2 separate regions of the Homo sapiens genome follow, and region 2 is linked to region 1. The links are contacts of gene promoters, found by promoter capture Hi-C in human tissues and cell types (Jung and others, 2019). All regions are on one chromosome and are shown on one strand. Each heading gives the region's core, a stretch centred on a gene start or on the middle of the fragment in contact. The rest is flanking DNA. Distances are from core to core; before and after follow the strand shown.

Evidence for each region. The method cuts DNA at HindIII sites, captures the fragments that hold promoters and counts their contacts. A contact is called where the count stands out against the background at its distance.
Region 2: a fragment that was not itself captured here is called in contact with the fragment with the promoter of NSUN4 in region 1 in 1 of the 25 tissues and cell types used here (hippocampus).

What each region holds. Positions count from the first base shown.
Region 1 is chr1:46,337,894-46,344,226 of GRCh38, reverse strand. It overlaps NSUN4 (NOP2/Sun RNA methyltransferase 4), which reads right to left and starts at 3,420. Exons shown (of 6, transcript NM_199044.4): 1 at 3,308-3,420. The coding sequence starts at 3,400. RefSeq lists enhancers at 2,133-2,222, 3,350-3,559, 4,220-5,019. The HindIII fragment of the contact is 4,996 bases long and covers 1,811-6,333 here.
Region 2 is chr1:44,726,556-44,732,888 of GRCh38, reverse strand. RNU5D-1 (RNA, U5D small nuclear 1) reads left to right here and starts at 1,719; the gene lies at 1,719-1,820. RefSeq lists a silencer at 3,500-3,549. The HindIII fragment of the contact is 5,181 bases long and covers 242-5,422 here.

The DNA.
Region 1 (6,333 bases), core at 2,171-4,670:
TCCCAGACCCCAGAAAGGTTGGATAAGGAGGGCCCACAGAATCTTGAGGTGTGAACCAAAACAGGGACTTCTAGGATGACTGCTATGGGGGTAGCAGGGGACAAGAGGACAAGAACAAGGAGGCAGAGTAAAAGAGAAATGAAGACTTCAGATGAGGAGTGCACAAGTCGGTCCTGGTTGCTGCAGCTGGGATGCTTGCTATAGCTGGCAATCTTGTTACTATCTATGCCTTGCTCTGGCCTAGATTTTTGGTCTGGTCAGAACTTTTGCTCTGGCCCTCATTTCTTGTTATGGTGAGGACTCTTGCTCTGTGACTTTTGCCTCGCTGGGACTCTTGCTCTGGCTCCTGCTATGTTGGGGACTCTTGCTCTGGCCTTGACCTTTGCCATGTTGGGGACTCTTGCTCCGGTTCCGACTTTTGCCATCATAGACTCTTGCTCTTGCCCTGACCTCTGCTAATTTGGGGACTCTCACCCTGGTGCTCATTTATGCTAAGTTGGGGACTCTCACTCTGGCCCTGACTTGTGTTTTGTTGAGGATTACTGCTCCGGCCCCAGCTTCTGCTAGGATAGGGACTGCTTTTCTGACTTGGACTTCTGCTCAGATGATGCCTCTTGCTCCAGCTCTGACTTCTGCCATCATGGGGACTCTTGCTTTGGCTCCGGCTTTGGCTTTGGTGGGAACTCCTGCTCTCGCTGTCACTACTCTGGCATTTGCTAATAATAGTCGAACTACAGCTGGGATTGGTGCTACAGCTGGAATCCTTGGATGAAGGCAAAGGGCAGCTGTAGGGGATCTGCAGAGGCTCTTTGCAAGGGCCTTGAGAGGCCACAGGGTAGATATGGAGGCCACAGGGGACAGTATCAGGGTAGGCCCGGACTCGGGGGACAATGGGTAAACTTTGAGGATCAAAGGGTGTTCTCAAAGGGATAAAAGAATAGATGTGGGTAGAACAAGGAGGCATCACAGGCTGACAACGAGGTTGGGGTGGGCCCCTGGGAGTGCTATAGGTGTCACACAGGGGCACAATGGGAGGGGGGCCTGTCGAATGATTGAGGGAGCCAGACAGTGGGCAGGGATGGGGGGTGGAGGGAACCACAGAGCATATATGGGTATTGCAGGGGGGCCCTATGGAGGGTCCATGGCGGCTGCTCTGAGCATAACTATTGGCCGAGACAGGATCACAAGGAAGGCAGAGGGGAAAAGAAGTGGGGATAACACTTTTGAGAGCTCTAGGGACCACAGTCAGTAAGGTAGTCCCTGGGGGAAGTTCTTTGGGGCTGGAATTTGAAGGAGTTGTGATGTATGGCTGCATACAAGAAGGACCAGAGAGGCAGGAGGGAGGTGGGGGACAGGTGTGGGCCTTAGCGGGCTTGGGCTGGCCAGAAGGGGTGTGCTGGGGAGTGTTGACTAGGGAGAGACATTTGTGGGGAGTATGTGACTGTCTTAACTCTGGGGACTTAGGGGACTTCGGTTGGGGGGAAACTGGAGTGGGAAGAGGGGGTTCATTATAGCTTCTGCGGGGAAGTGACTGGGGTGGAGATATAAACTGGTTGCCCAGGGGTGAAGGGAAGGAAAGGACAGAATGAGGACCATGGGGACGAGATGGTTCCTGGGAACAGGGGGGACCAGAAGTTGTGGTGTCCGGGGTTAGGATGAGGTAAGAGTTCCCAGTTGCCTCCCAGGAGAGAAGGGACTCAATGCAAGCCTTCCTGGGAGCCTGGGACTGGGGTGAGCAAGGAGAATCAGTACTCCCGGGGCACAGGCAGATGGCATAGCAAGGACTCCCAGGGGTAGGTATGTAGGCCTCTGAGGAAAGATGGGAGTAATGATAAGAGCCCTCCTGAGGTGAGCTGGGAGAGCCAGGCATGCCTGCCTGAGAAGAGAGTGGGAAGCCACAACAATTTTTCTCAAGGGGCAGGTCAAGCTGTGGTTTGGGTTCACAAGAGTCTAGAGGCTTAAGGCTGCCATGGTAAAAGCTGCCAGTAGGTGGGGAAGATGCTGGGGAGAGAAGGGGGTCATTATAACTTCTCCCTGAGAACCAGTGAGAGGGCAGAGAGATCATCAGCCCAGTTTCCAAAACTCTGTGAGAAAGGGTTGGGGAGGCCATAGGACTAGTTTCCACCGGCCGGCGAGCAAGAGGAGGTGAAATCGTGAGGCAAGTTCCCGGGGTCCTATGTGTAGGAGGAGGCGAAATCATGGGTCCAGTTTCCAAGGGTACATGAGTGAGCTGAGGGGAGGTCACTGGGCTCGTTCCCGGGGACTGATGAGCAAGGGGAAAGGAGGTTGCCGGGCTGGTTCCAAAAGCTGAAGGCCATCCGCTAGAGTAACAGAGATTAGTGTGCTGGTCACAGTACGTGCCTTGAAGACAGGGACGCCGCATTCTGGAGGGACTCATCCAGCTGCAATAAGGTGTCCGCTGACAGAGAGGGGGTGACCCCGGAATGCTGAACTGCTCAAAATAAGGGCTGGAGAGTGGGGAACCCGAGTGGCAGGGCTAGCGGCAGTAGGTCCTTTCCAGGAGTGGGGAAGAGGACTCAAAAGACCATCTCCCTGAGTGCGAGGAAGGTTGTGGGGGTGGAAGAGATGGTGGAGGTGGCGAGGGAATCGGCTGGGGTGGGCAGGGGGGCGTGCCGGTCATAGAAGAAATTCCAGGGCTTCCAGTGAGGCAAGAAAAAGGGTCTCTGGAGAAGCAAGGAGAGTCCAGAGGATGAGAGGATTCGTTGCACCTTTTGCCAGGGTTTGGGCCGGCAGTATGGACAGGGTGGTCGCTGTAACCTTGCCCGGTCGCCAGAGGCAGCTCGAGGTTGAGGAAGGGGCTGAATCCTTTCCTGCAAGGCGGCGGAGACCCAGGAGTGCAGGCAAGGTCGCTATGGTATTTTCCGAGGGGTGAGGGCGACCGGGCTGGAAAATCAATGAGGAAAGGAGAAGTCATGTGGGGGAAGAATGGGCAAGGGAAAGGGGGAGGGGAGGGAGGGAAGTAAAAGGGGGAGTGGGGGACAGAAAGGTAGGTGGACACAGCTGGGGAACAAGAGACAGTGACATCACTAAAAGAATGAAGGCGAAGGTGATGACGCAACTTGGGCGGAGTCAGGAGACTGCAGACGTAACAAGTGGAAGACACTAACGCTCGGGACATAGAGTGCGGACAGAGGCGGTGACGGAAAAGACGAGAGAGGGAGGTGCCTAAGGACGTTCCGTGGAGTGCTTGGGAAAGACGCTAGGCGTTCTAGAGGGCCGGGAAACGGAAAGACTGGAGAAGTTTCCACCCTCACTTTTCCCTCCTGCGCCCCCAGCCGGACCTTACCCATTTCTTCTTATATCGATGTCTCCGCGGGACCGTCGCGAGGTCCACACGCTTCAGCAGCTCCCGGACACCCCTCAGTGTCAGCGCAGCCATATCGGCGTGCTCCACGGGGTAATTCCGACCGGAACCGCGACAGGAGACTCGCGTGTTCCGGGGAGGTGGTGAGCGCCACCCGGCGGGACACGAGCGAAAAAAGGGAAAGGAAATACATCTGACGCTCTCCCAGGACTCCGCGCGCCTCTACAGACTCCGCCCAGCCAGGAGTCCCCTGAAGGCTGCTGGAAAAAGAGCAACCTGGCACCCGGAATAATGACTCTGCCTGGATGCTTAGAGCAGTGCGAGGGACTCCCAAGAAGCCCCTAGCCCACTTGGGGGACCAGGGAGGATTAGGAGTTGGTGGTTGAGTACCGAAAGAGTTAGCTAGGCGAAAAGGGGCGGGAAGGGCCTCCTAGGCCGAAATTGCATGGAGGAAGATCCTTAGGTAGAGGAAAATGAGACCAGGCTTGTAGGCAGAAGCAGATTTGCAGTGAAACAAATGAAGCTTAAGTTTCGGGACCTGGCCGGGCGTGGTGGCTCACGCCTGTAATCCCAGCACTTTGGGAGGCCGAGGCGAGCAGATCACGAGGTCAGGAGATCGAGACCCTCCTGGCTAACACGGTGAAACCCCGTCTCTACCAAAAATACAAAAAATTAGCCGGGCGAGGTTGCTGGCGCCTGCAGTCCCAGCTACTCGGGAAGCTGAGGGATGGCGTGAACCCGGGAGGCGGAGCTTGCAGTGAGCCCAGATCGCGCCACTGCACTCCAGCCTGGGCGACAAAGCGAGACTCCGTCTCAAAAAAAAAAAAAAAAAAAAAAAAAGTGGAGGCGTGAATAACCCACCCCTTGTTTAGCGTACCATCAAGAAATAACCATAAAAATGGGCAAGCAGCCCTTGGAGCTGCTCTATCTATGGACTATCCATTCTTTTATTCTTGTACTTTAATAAACTTGCTCTCACTTTGCATTGCGGACTCGCCCTGAATTCTTTCTTGTGCGAGATCCATGAACCTCTCTTGGGGTCCGGATCGGGACCCCTTTCTGGTAACAATGCCTGTAATCCCAGCCAATCTCCCTGCCTTTTGATCTCCCTGCCTCACTCCTACCCACCCTGATAATTGGCTGTTGAATGATCATTTAAAAACACAGTTTCTGATCATGTCCCTCCTCTCCACTGGATCCCTACTGGTGATGTCAAATGTTGTGGGGCCTAACGCTTCCGCAATTTGAGAAGACATAGTTAAGAAAAATAATACAAAACTTGGCCGGGCGCGGTGGCTCACGCTGCCCCCAGCCGAAAGCTTTTTCTTATTTGGCATTTGAATGTGGAATTTTGGAATTTTCTTATTGGCAACAAATACTGTCAGTTATTTTCCTTGAAGTGACAGGCTCACTTTGTTCATTTTTCAAGAAAAAGGCTGGCCGGCACTGTGGCTCATTCCTGTAATCCTAGCACTTGGGAGGCCGAGGTGGGTGGATCACCTGAGGTCAGGAGTTGGAGACCAGCCAGGCCAACGTGGTGAAACCCAGTCTCTACTAAAAATACAAAAATTAGTTGGGCATGGTGGCTCATGCCTGTAATCCCAGCTACTTGGGAGGCCGAGGCAGGAGAATAACTTGAAACCAGGAGGCAGAGGTTGCAGTGAGCTGAGATCATGCCACTGCACTCCAGGCTGGGCAACAGAGTGAGACTCTGTCTCAAAAGAAAAATTCTAGTATATTAAAATATAATTGATTTTTTCTGTTGACCTTGTATCCTGAGACCTTCCTAAACTCAATTATTACTTTTGGTAACTTTTTGGAAATCTGTTCAGGTTTTCTATGCATATGGTCATGTCTTTTGTAAATAAAGACACTTTAACTTCTTTCTTTTCTATCTATATCCCTTTTTTTTTTCTTTGCTTTATTCCACTGGCTAGGACTTCCAGTACACAGTTGAATGTAAGTGGTGATGGTAGGCATCCTTGCCTTGTTCCCATTCTTAAGAAGAAAGCATTTAGTACTTCACCATTATATATGATGTTAGCTGTAGTTTTGTGTGTGCGTGTACCTGCATGTGTATAGATGTCCTTTCTTAGGTTTAGAAAGTTCCCTTCTGTTCCTAGTTTGCTGAGATTTTAAAAAATCATGATAGTTGTTGATTTTCCTTAAGTTTTTTTTTTTTTTCTGTTAAGATGATCATACAGTTTTACTCCTTTTTTTTTTTTTTCTTTTTGACGGAGTTTCGCTCTGTCACCAGGCTGGAGTGCAGTGGTGCCATCTCGGCTCACTGCAACCTCCGCCTCCTAGGTTCAAGCAATTATTCTGCCTCAGCCTCCTGAGTAGCTGTTATCACAGGCATGCACCACCACGCCTGGCTAATTTTTGTATTTTTAGTAGAGATGGGGTTTCACCGTGTTGGCCAGGCTGGTCTCGAACTCCTGATCTCAGGTGATCCGCCCACCTCCCAAAGTGCTGTGATTAGGTGTGAGCCCCTGCGCCCAGCCAGTTTTACTTCTTTATTCCATTACTATGATGCATCATGTTGACTGACTTTTCAATATGAACCAACTTTGCATTCTTGTAAAAAACACATCAATTCATGATACAAATACAGTATTTTTTTTCTTTTAGACAGAGTCTTGCTCTGTCACCCAGGCTGCAGTGCAGTGGCACAATCTTGGCTCACTGCAACCCACGCCTCCCAGGTTCAAGCGATTCTTCTGCCTCAGCCTCCTGAGTAGCTGAGACTACAGGTGCAGGCCACCACGCCCAGCTAATTTTTATATTTTTAGTAGAGTCAGGGTTTTGCCATGTTGGCCAATCTGGTCTTGAACTCCTGACCTCAGGTGATCCACCCACCTTGGCCTCCCAAAGTGCTGCGATTACAGGTACGAGCCACTGCGCCCAGCCGATGATACAGTATTCTTTTTAAATATTGTTGGGATTCTTTTTTGTGTGTGTGTGTGTGTTTTTTTTTTTTTTTGAGACGGAGCCTTGCTCTTTCACCC
Region 2 (6,333 bases), core at 1,583-4,082, 1.6 Mb after region 1:
ATGCCTGTAACCCCAGCACTTTGGGAGGCCAAGGCAGGAGGATTGCTTGAGGTCAGAAGTTCAAGACCAGCCTGGGCAGCATAGCAAGATGTCATCTCTACAAAAAATTTAAAAATTAGCCAGCTGTGGTAGTATGCTTCTGTAGTCCTAGCTACTTGGGAGGCTGAGGCAGGAGGACTGCTTGATCCCAGGAGTTCAAGACTTCAGTGGCCCTCGATTGCACCACTGCACTCCAGCCTGGGACACAGAGCAAGACACTGTCTCAAAAAAAAAAAAAAAAAAAAATGCCAGGCGCAGTGGCTCACGCCTGTAATCCCAGCACTCTGAGAGGCCAAGGCGGGCAGATCACGAGGTCAGGAGATTGAGACCATCCTGGCTGACAGAGTGAAACTCCCATCTCTACTAAAAATACAAAAAATTAGCCAGGCGTGGTGGTAGGCGCCTGAGTCCCAGCTACTCAGGAGGCTGAGGCAGGAGAATGGCATGAACCCGGGAGGCGGAGCTTGCAGTGAGCAGAGATCGCGCCACTGGACTCCAGCCTGGGGGACAGAGCGAGACTCTTTAAAAAAAAAAAAAGTGTATGATCGAATGGTAATAAACTGGATGGGTGGGGGGGGTACTTGGCAAAGCCTGTTTGTTCAGATTATTCTTGGCCTCTGTGTGACATTCATTCCCTGTGGGCATAAGGCAGGACACTGGTCACACGAAGGTCTTCATGGGAGAAGAGAAGGAAAAGGTCAAAAATAACTTCCTGCTTATATAGTTTTCTCAGTTTCTTTGATGGCTTAAAATACTCAGTATGCCAAGGTGCCATATGTTGGGGTATCATGTTCTAAGCCCTGACACCTCTGTAACAACTCAGAATTTCTTCTCCGGGCTTCCTTCAGGTAAGGTGAAAATAAACTTCTTGCTTGTTCAAGCTACTCTTTTTGGAGTCTTTGTTACATACTGTGGAAGGCAGAGGGATGATACAAAATTCAGTATTTGCTATGATGTGGTTTTCTTTTCTTTTCTTTTGAGGTGGAGTCTCCTGTTGCCCAGGCTGGAGTGCAGTGGTGCAGTCTCGGCTCATTGCAGCCTCCGCCTCCTGGGTTCAAGCAATTCTCCTGTCTCAGCCTCCCAAGTAGCTGTGACTACATGCGAACGCCACAACGCCCAGCTAATTTTTGTATTTTTAGTAGAGACGGGGTTTCACCATGTTGGCCAGGATGGTCTCGATCTCCTGACCTCGTGATCCGCCCGCCTCGGCCTCCCAAAGTGCTGGGATTACAGGCGTGAGCCACCGCGCCAGGCCTATGAATACAATTATTTTAAAGCTTTTAATTTTTTTTTTTTTTACTTTAAGTGCCAATTATAAAATAAAGTCACTGTCTAGTTGGACCAGGCATCTACAGTTCTGTAAATCTGGCTTCCGCTCTGCCCCCTGGTGGTGGCCTAACGCCTAGAAAAAGTAACGAACTATTTAAGGTATTTCTGGAAACCGAGGGGGTGGTGACTCAGCGTCATTTACATACCCACAATGCACTGCACACAGACCACGTCCTACTTTAAAAGGAGATTCTCCCTTTTTTCCCCCTCTTTTCCTTTACCATAATAACGAAGCTCCTTTCACACAATCGTCTGAGACAAAAACAGAAGTCACTCTTTTGGGTTAATAGTAACCATTGCTAATCTAGTAGTGACCGTCCCCCGAGGACTGTGTGCAACCATTCCAACACATGCTCTGGTTTCTCTTCAAATCGTATAAATCTTTCGCCTTTTACTAAAGATTTCCGTGGAGAGAAACCGTTTTGAGTTTCAAGCAAATTTTTTGAAGCCCTATGTTGGTGGGGTTCATCAACGGTGTTTAAAAATCAGATAGAAAGTTGTGTGTTTGTTGCGAGGTGTGAGACAACATTTTGTTTGAACATTTATTTTGGGCTGTTGTAATGGTGTGAGTGTGCGTTTTTTATTTTTTTGGAAGTGGGGTTTTAGACTAGACTGTAGTGAGCAATCTTTGCCTGCCGGCTTCAAGGGATTTTCCTGCTTCAGTCTCTCAAGTAGCTGGGGCTACAGGTGGCAACACCATTCCCTGTTAGTTTTTGTATTTTAATAGAGATGGGGATTTCCCACATTGGCCAGGCTGATCTGCCCGCCTTGGCCTCCCAAAGTGCTGGGATTACAAGCATGAGCCACCGTGCGAAAATTTGGTTTTGTTTTGTGGTTTTGTTTTGTTTTGTTTTTAATTAATTTATTCTAGAAACGGTCTCACTGTGTCACTCAGTCTGGAGTGCAGTGGCACGATTATAGCTCACTGCGGCCTTAAACTCCTGGCCTCAAGTGATCCACCCACCTCAACCTCCCGTGAGCCACCGCTTCCCGCTTGGCCAGTTTAGTTTTTAAAGGGTTTTTTTTTTTTTTAAATTATGATCACTTTAGCCCAGTGGTTCCTAGATTTTTGGATTTCCCAATTATTAAAATTTCCGAAAAAGTTCTGGGGTACTATTTTTTTACCATTATACAAAAGAAAACATTTCAAGACTAAAAACTAAAACCAAACAATGACCAAAAATAAAAAGAAAAAAAAGACTAAAAACTAAAAATGACTTGATCTCTCAGCCTGACGCGGTGGACGCGGTGGCTCACACCTGTAATCCCAGCACTTTGGGAGGCCAAGGCGGGTGGATCACTTGAGGTTAGGAGTTCAAGACTAGCCTGGCCAACATGATGATATCCCGTCTTTACTAAAAACACAAAAATTAGCTGGGCGTGGGCATGGCGGCAGGCGCCTGTAATCCCAGCTACTTGGGAGGCTGAGGCAGAGAATCGCTTGAACCCAGGAGGCGGAGGTTGCAGTGAGCCGAGATTGCGCCACTGCACTCCAGCCTGGGAGACAGAGTGAGACTCCGTCCCCAAAAATAAAATAAAATAAATAAAATAAAATAAAATAAAATAAAATAAAAAAATAAGGCCAGGCGTGGTGGCTCACGCCTGTAATCCCAGCACTTTGGGAGGCCGATGCGGGTGGATCACAAGGTCAGGAGTTCAAGACCAGCCTGGCCAACATGGTGAAACCCCATCTCTACTAAAAATACAAAAATTAGCCGGGCGTGGTAGCGCATGCCTGTAATCCCAGCTACTTGGGAGGCTGAGGCAGGAGAATCTCTTGAACCCGGGAGGCGGAGGTTGCAGTGAGCCGAGACTGCGTCACTGCACTCCAGCCTGGCAAAAGAGCGAGACTCCGTCTCAAAAATAAATAAATAAATAAATAAATAAATAAAATCAGCAAAAATAAAATAGGAAATCCATTTAGCTTTAAAGAAAACATAACAACAAAACATAAATATATTTTGTTAACTTTTCTCTCCTTTGTAGGTACAAAAAGAGGAAAGCTGAGGCTCAAAATAAGTGGGGAAAGCAGAACTGCCTTAGACCAACAATGTCAGGGCTGGTGATGCCCTCTTGTGGCATCCTGGAGAATTACTGCCATCTGACTTCATTTCCTCCGACTTGGAGGGACTATTCCCTCACAATACCTCAGTCACTGATTCATGCATGCCAGGTATTGTCCTAACAGTATCCCTGTCCTCGTGGAGTTTACAGTCAGATGGAGGACATACTATTAATAAACATAATAAGGTAATGCTATGGAAAAAAATAGCAGAGTAAGGTGGGAGGGGAGGTGGTGAGTATAGAGAATGGTAGTGTGCATTGCAATTTTAAAAAGAGTAGGCCTTCTTGTAGAGTTGAAGGGAGATGGGGGAGTGAGCCCTGTGGATATATGGGATGAAGTTCTAGGCAGAGTGAACAGTCAGTACAATAGCGTTGAGACAAGAGCTTGTTTGCCAATTTCTTTTTTTCTTTTTCTTTTTTTGAGACGGCGTCTTGCTCTGTCGCCCAGGCTGGATGGAGTGCAGTGGCGCGATCTCGGCTCACTGCAAGCTCCGCCTCCCGGGTTCACGCCATTCTCCTACCTCAGCCTCCTGAGTAGCTGGGACTACAGGTGCCCGCCACCACGCCCGGCTAAGTTTTTGTATTTTTAGTAGAGATGGGGTTTCACTGTGTTAGCCAGGATGGTCTCCATCTCTTGACCTCGTGATCTGCCCACCTTGGCCTCCCAAAGTTCTGGGATTACAGGCGTGAGCTACCGCGCCCGGCCTCTTTGCCAATTAAAAAAAAAAAAAAAAAAAAAAGAACCAGCAAGGGAGTCCAGTGTGTCTGGAGCAGAGTGAAGGACAGACAGAGGCAGAAGAGTTTAGAGAGGTGATGGGAAACCTGAGCACCTAGGGTCTTCATTCAGCGAAATGGGGAGCCCTCCAAGGTTTGAGCCCAGTGATAGAATCTGAAGCTTAAAAGGATAACCCTGGCTGTCGTATTAAAAAGAGAACAGGTATTGACTGGGCACAGTGGTTCACGCCTGTGATCCCAGTACTTTGGGAGGCTGAAGTGAGTGGATAATTTGAGGTCAGGAGTTTGAGACCAGCTTGGCCAACATGGTGAACTCCTGTTTCTACTAAAAATACAAAAATTGGCTAGGCGTGGTGGCAGAAGCCTGTAATCCTAGCTACTCGGGAGGCTGAGGCAGGAGAATTGCTTGAGCCCAGGAGGTGGTGGGTGCCAGTGAGCCTAGATCACACCACTGCACTCCAGCCTGGGTGACAGAGTGACATTTCATCTCAAAAAAAAAGAAACTAAAAGAAAAGAGAACAGGAAGAGGGAGAAAAGCAGAATAACGTTGAAGAGAGATGATAGTGGCTCAGCCCAGAGTATTAACAATAGAGGTAGTGAGATATGGTTGGATTCTGGATGTATTTGGAAGATAGAGCCAACAGACATAATAGATATGGGTGCTAAAGACGGACATTAAAAAGCACTCCACTATTTTGTTTTGTTTTATAGGAAGGATGAGTTGCCATGAGTTGAATTGGGGAAAGTGGCACGGGATTAGGAGTTCAGTTTTAGACACGATGAGGTGGAAATGTTTAGCTGGAAATAGAAATGTAGGAGTCATTGGCCTATAATGATATTTAAAGTTCTGAGACAGGATGAAATCAGCAGGGTGTAAAAGCAGATAGAAGAGAGACTCCAGACCAGGAGCCCTGCCTCACTCCAACTTGAATGAGACTGGATTGAAGAGGAGAAATCTTCAAAAGAAAAAACAACACCATGCACACTCAGGCCAGGCACAGTGGCTCATGCCTACAATCCCAGCACTTTGGGAGGCCAAGGCAGGAGGATCACTTGAGCCCAGGAGTTGGAGACCAGCCTGGACAACATAGTGAGACCTCATCTCTACAAAAAAAGAAAAAAATATTAGCTGAATGTGGTCGTGGTGCACATCTGTAGTCCCAGCTACTCCGGAGGCTGAGGCATGAGAATTGCTTGAGCCTGGGAAGCAGAGGTTGCAGTGAGTCGAGATTGCACCCCTGCACTCCAGCCTGAGCAACAGAGACCCTGTCTAAAAAAAAAAAAAAAAAAAAAAGCTGGGTGTGGTGGCTCACGCCTGTAATCCCAGCACTTTGGGAGGCTGAGGCGGGCAGATCATGAGGTCAGGAGTTCGAGACCAGCCTGGCTAAGATGGTGAAACCCCATCTCTACTAAAAATACAAAAGTTAGCTGGGTTTGGTAGTGCATGCCTGTAGCCCCAGCTACTCAGGAGGCTGAGGTTGCAGTGAGCCGAGATTGTGCCACTGCATTCCAGCCTGGTGACACAGCGAGACTCCGTCTCAAAAAAAAAAAAAAAAAAAAAAAAAGACTATGCACACTCCAGCCCCTCCTGGAAGAACCTACCTTTTTCCAGAAATCCTCAACCCAGTCTCCACCTACCTGCCCTAAGTTCCCTTGAGACTCCCTTTTTACCAGGCCCCTCCCCCTGGGAGAAGGTGCTTTGAGCATGAGCTCCCCTTCCTCCATTCCTATGATGTAAGGTTTTCTTCTTGGTCACTTTGCAAGCTGGGGACCTCTGGCCAGCAATGCCCTGCCAGGTCTCACTCGCCAGGCTACCTGCTGCAGGAGATGGCCTTTACTTGCTGCAGGAGACGACCCACCCGCTCAGTCCAGTTGGCGGAGTCTAGCTTATGCACTGGTTCCCGAGTTCTCGTCCCACGAGCCCAAGAAGAATGAGGATGCACTGGCAATTGAAGAGTGAGCAAGGTGGGGTTTTACTGAGTGATAAAACAGCTTTCGGTGGCTGTGGGGGGTGGTCCCCCTACCTGAAAGTGGGAAAGTCCCCCTAATATGGCTGAGTCCAGGGCTTCTATGGGCTCAGAATGGGGGAAGGGCAGGCCATAGGTAGTATTGGAAAAGGCAACATTCAATTGGTTAAAAGGCATTATTCAGAAAGAATCAATCAGG